2 separate regions of the Homo sapiens genome follow, and region 1 is linked to region 2. The links are contacts of gene promoters, found by promoter capture Hi-C in blood cells and fetal thymus (Javierre and others, 2016). All regions are on one chromosome and are shown on one strand. Each heading gives the region's core, a stretch centred on a gene start or on the middle of the fragment in contact. The rest is flanking DNA. Distances are from core to core; before and after follow the strand shown. Region 1 holds the start of ARMCX5 (armadillo repeat containing X-linked 5). Region 2 holds the start of BEX5 (brain expressed X-linked 5).

Region 1 (2,700 bases), core at 126-2,625, 440 kb before region 2:
AAATGAAGACACAGGAGACAGTTGAGGCTGTTTTTGGTAGAGACCAGCACCTAGGGCACAGTTTCTTTCTGGATATAAGTACCTGTTTGGCAAACATTTTCTATCTCCCCTTTTTCTCCCACTCCTAAATCTCCAAGCCCCTCTGCTCTATTCTCAAAGTCTGACAATTCCTATACAGAGACAACTCAAACATCCCTACAAGGTAGTAGTAGTGGTGTTAGTAGGGACGAAATGCCTAGACAAACCACGGAGGCTGGGGAAAAAATGAAAAGTATTTATTTCCATATTTCATCTGGGTTCCTATGTTTCCTTCCTCTCTCCCAAAGCCTATCATTTTCTGCAACATAATGCGGGTAAGGGAGGACATGTTAGGAAAGCTGGCAGAGAGTTCTGGAGGCTCCCTTACACTCCTGCCTACTCTAATCTTAGCCATCTACCACCTCCAAGTACTGCCTCCCAAGTACTGCCCACTCTGTACAAACCAGGCCAATTTTCTTTTCCTTCTCCTCTCCCCTTGAGGTCTGCTGTCCCCTACAGATCTTTACAGAAACATGGAGTGCTGCAAACTTAGGAACAGATTTACACATAAAAACGCGTGATACACACCCAAAGAACAAATGAAAAGACAGAGAGAGAGACGTGGTTATTAATGGTCAGACCAGTAACCAAGACATGAGACCCTTTTCAAATCCAGAGCCTTGATTATCAAACATTTACAACCTCTTTTTACATTCTCTCCCTCTCAGGGCTCCCCAGACAACTGTCCTCGCCTGTGGAAGTAGCCCTCTCTTCCTCATCTAGTCTGCCTTTTCCCTGCTAGAAGCTGCAACCTTTTTCTTCCCAAGCATGGTCTGAGGTGAACCGAGTGTATGGAAATCAAGCTAGCAAAAGGTAGATCATTTTTTTTTAATTGTTGTGTGCCATTCCAATTACCCATCTCTCTCTCCTTCTCACCGCCCGCCTCCCATGACCAGGTCGCGTATCCAGTGTTCACCTCTGATACCCACATCCACCCCCAAGCGATGCGCACCTTCTCACTGACCTTCTCTGCTTGGATCAGAGGCAGTTTTCTTATTTCCTTGCCTCGAGGTGCTGTGTCATACAGCAGCAGGAACAGACAGTCAGACACAAGGACTCGAGGCAATGGCGGCGGCTGTGTATGGGGATTGACTCGGCACCTGGGACTCAAGACGAGATAACCGCTTTATCAGATTAAAGACTGCGATTGGCAAACTGTTGTCACTTTTGGTATTCTTTTCTCCTTCCTGTTCCCAGGGCTCCTCAGAACCTCGCGCGTAGTTACCATTTAACATCTACCTTTTCCTCCGCAGACGAGGTTCTTCCACGTCCGCGTTACCCACAACGGCAGTGGGAGGAGCTAGAGCGTAGTTTATGGGGATCCGGCTTATGGAAGCGGAGTGATATCAGGCTTTGTTTAGCGCCGCGACTCTTTTCTGTCGGAGGGCTCCCTGTCCTGTACCCTGTGGCCGCTTCAGGTATTGGAATGCGCAGGGACGAATTCCGGATATAGGGAAAACGGCGCTGGAACAAGAGAGGCAGACAAATACCAGAGTGTTTCTGTATTAGTTCCCCTTTTGCGGGAGCTCCCCCCACCAAGCCTACCATTCTTTCCTGAACTGAAATGCACATGGGTTTCCAGCTGTGGTGTCAGGAAATCTCTTCTGGCCTGACAGGCGGAAGTGTTCCAGTCTTTCGAAGTTCGTTCTCCAAACACAGAGGCCCACTGAAATGGGCGGTCTCGGGGTGGGGCCCAGGGTAGGAAAGTCAGCAAAGAGAGTCAAGACTGAGATAGGAGGATACATACTAATCGATTCCACAAACTTTGTGTTCCTTCGAGTCCTCCCTCCCAGCCCTTAATTTTCATTTTCTTTTTTTTTTTTTTAAGTTCTAGGATACATGTGCAGGATGTGCGTGTTTGTTAAATAGGCAAACGTGTGCCGTGGTGGCTTGCTGCACCAATCAACCTATGACCTAGGTATTAAGCCTGGCATGCATTAGCTATTTTTCCTAAGGCTTTCCCTCACCGCCCCCCACAACCCCTGACAGGTCCCAGTGCGTGTTTTTCCCCTCCCTGTGTACATGTGTTCTCATTGTTCAGCTTCCACTTATAAGGGAGAACATGCAGTATTTGTTTTCTGTTGCTGCATTAGTTTGCTGAGGATAATGGCTTCCAGCTCGATCCATGTCCCTACAAAGGACATGATCTCATTCTTTATTATGGCTGCATGGTATTTCATGGTGTATATGCACCACATTTTCTTAATGTTATCACTGATGGGCATTTGGGTTGATGCCACGTCTTTGCTATTGTGAATAGTGCGGCAATGAATATACGTGTGCGTGTATCTTTGTAATAGAATGATTTATATTCCTTTGGGTATATACCCAGTAATGGGATTGCTGGGTCAAATGGTATTTCTGGTTCTAGATATTTGAGGAATTGCCACACCGTCTTCCACAATGGTTGAACTAATTTACATTCCCACCAATGTAAAAGCGTTCCCATTTCTCTGCAACTTTGCCAGCATCTCTTGTTTCTTAACTTTGTATTAATTGCCGTTATGACTGGTGTGAGATGGTATCTCATTGTGATTTTGATTTGCATTTCTCTAATGATCAGTGATGTTGAGCTTTTTTCCATGTGTTTGTTGGCCACATAAATGTCTTCTTTTGAGAAGT
Region 2 (2,700 bases), core at 158-2,657:
TTTATTTTAAGTTCAGGAATACATGTGCAGCTTTGTTATATAGGTAAACTGATCCTCTCCCTCCTCCCATCCTCCACCCTCCTGTAGGCCCCAGTGTTGTTCCCCTCTATGTGTCCATCACAATACATTTTCATCTGTCAGGGTAGCTTCCCCAAATTATTGTCCTGAATCATCAGGGCTAGGTGTTATTGTAAATTGTGGTTACACTAATACAATTTAGAGGAGATCATCAGTTTGTCACAGGTTCTCAAGACATGAAAATCCACCAGAGAGGCTCTATTAGACTCAATGCATCATTTCACGGAAGGACATGTAGAGATCCTTCACGAGAAAATCACTTCTTTCCTTCTTTCCTTCCTCTTTTCTTTTCTTTTCTTCTTCCTTTCTTTCTCTTTCTTTCTTTCTTTCCTTCTTTCTTTCTTTCCTTCTTTCTTTCTTGACAGAGTCTCACTCTATCGCCCAGGCTTGGTGTGCAATGGTGCTACCTCGGCTCACTACAACCTCTGCCGCCCAGGTTCAAGCAATTCTCCTGCCTCAGCCTCCCGAGTAGCTGGGATTACAGGCGCCTGCCACCACGCCCAGCTACTTTTTGTATTTTTAGTAGAGACGGGGTTTCACCATCTTGGCCAGGCTGGTCTTGAACTACTGACCCCGTGATCCACCCACCTCGGCCTCCCAAAGTGCTAGGATCACAGGCACGAGCCACCGCTCCCGGCCTTATTTCAAAGTCCTTAAAGGAGGCAGGGGAATGCTTTCTGGAAGGTTTATATTTATAATATGATTCAGCAGGAGAAACAGATTGCCATGTTTTTACAACTCGAATCCTGTTTTTTCAACTGAAAATAATTGTATTGTCTAGTTATAAAAACAACAACAAAATGAATGCATGCTGATGAAAAATAAAAGGAACCCCCTTCCCAAATAAACAAACAAAAAGGAAAGTAGTTGAAGTGAAAAAAAAATTTGAATACCACTTCCTGCCTATTTTCCAGACTTCCTAGCCTCTCGCTCCCCACCCCTTCTCCGGGTTCCAATCTGGGACCAAGCCCTACAAGACTGTTAGGGCTTTACTTGCTGGACGTGAAGGGGAGAGAAGTGTGCGTTTAGGTGTATAGAAGAGGAAGAAGCGATTTTTTAAAAGCTCCAGCAGAAACCAGAGCAAGCCAAATACAAAATATTATGACCCGTTTGGTCGTGGGGATCGCTAAATAAAAAAATAGAGGGGTGGATAGTAGCCTGTGGTAGTGGTGGAGAAAGCACGAATGAAGAGAAAGGTGGCCCCGCCCACAGTCCCGCCCCCACCCTCCTGCCGCACTGCGGGTGTGAATGGTAATTGGAAATCTGAGCTCACAGTGACGTGACCCTTAGGAGACCCAGAGCCAATGCGTGGATTAGTCCCTCCTCCTAGTTGCAGTCTGGTAGTTGTCGCTGGCCGTGTGACGGCTCGCTGTTGCCCTGAAGGCAGGCGAGCCAGCTGCCCAGGAAAGGTGGAAAGTGGTAGAAGCTGACCCCTGAGCCCTGGCAGGTAGGTGGCGCTGACCGGTGTGTGAGCAGCAGAGGGCAAAGACCAGAGCGGGTCTAGGACTGGATACACACCCTTTCCAGATACACACCCGTTTAGTGCGAGAAATGGAGCGGTTGGGGAGAGGATCTCCCGAGGGGGCTGGATTGAGAATGGGTACCATTTGAGATCTCCTAGGAGGCCGGCCATCGGGCAATGTCTGATGGAGTCCAGCCGGTGGAGGAGACTGAAAGGAAACAGCCTGCTTCCTGCAGGTCCGCGGGAGGGAGGTACAGCCGGCAACCAAGGGTTGGGGAGGGCGGACCCTGCCAAGGTTTTAGGCCTGCCTTCTAGGTATCTTTTCTTCACCCTCTACCCATTTAGAGCTGGAAATGATAGGCTGCGGGGGCCGAGGAGAGGAATTGCTGCAGAGGAGGGGGACAGAGATTAGGTCTGGAAAGCAGGTCCCTATTGCGGCAGTTGAGCGGGCGAGCTTCTGACTGAGGGACAGAGGCGAGGAGCGAGAAACTGTTTTTGGTCTCAGCAGGTCGGTCGGTGTAAGCGTGGGCGCTACCTGTAGATCCTGGAGTGAGAATGACAAAGCGCAGAGACCGCAGCAGGTCCTAGTTTTCAATGCCCACATACCTCTTCACTCATCGTCCATCTTGATGCATAAAATGGTGGGCATGGGAGTGGGGATCGGGTGGAGAGAGGGCCTGATGGATATCTAGATTGAAATTCTTTGTGAATAAACTACGTATTCATTCAGCAAGCTCTTCTAACTCCCCCGCCAGGCAAGTTGCCTGCGTTGCAGAAAGGGTAACTAGATGACAGGTAAGAGGAAACAGTAGAGATGGGCGCCTAAAGAAGAGGTTAAAACGTTTTGGAAATAATCATCTTTGATGCCTATTTCTGGAAGGTGGGATAGCCTGTCACAGGGTGGGAAAAGAAGCCGTGAGACAGGATGGAGGAGAAACAGAAGGTGCTAATACTAGGAGAACCCTAAATCAACTCCCATTACCGGTCCTTTGATTAAAAGATCAGTCCTGGTAATTGTCACATTTGTCTGCAGGTCTTTAAGTGCGTTTGTGCAGCCGATTTCAAGGCTAAGAGAGAAAGACTGCCTCTGATCCCTGAAGGTAGGAGGTTGCCTGGGGCCCTCTGGTGTAGGGGTATCAAGGATCAGAGCAGAATCTGGG

What was found. Contacts are between HindIII fragments. The CHiCAGO score rates a contact against its expected background, and 5 or more counts as called.
Region 1: the fragment with the promoter of ARMCX5 here is called in contact with the fragment with the promoter of BEX5 in region 2 in 1 of 17 cell types (total CD4 T cells); the score reaches 5.9 in total CD4 T cells.

What each region holds. Positions count from the first base shown.
Region 1 is chrX:102,598,190-102,600,889 of GRCh38, reverse strand. It overlaps ARMCX5 (armadillo repeat containing X-linked 5), which reads right to left and starts at 1,375. Exons shown (of 4, transcript NM_001168478.2): 1 at 1,043-1,375. ARMCX5-GPRASP2 (ARMCX5-GPRASP2 readthrough) reads right to left here and starts at 1,375. Exons shown (of 19, transcript NR_146584.3): 1 at 1,043-1,375. RefSeq lists enhancers at 1,076-1,125, 558-1,329. The HindIII fragment of the contact is 9,703 bases long and covers 1-2,700 here.
Region 2 is chrX:102,154,684-102,157,383 of GRCh38, reverse strand. BEX5 (brain expressed X-linked 5) reads left to right here and starts at 1,407. Exons shown (of 3, transcript NM_001012978.3): 1 at 1,407-1,525; 2 at 2,574-2,640. RefSeq lists an enhancer at 1,451-1,590. The HindIII fragment of the contact is 12,891 bases long and covers 1-2,700 here.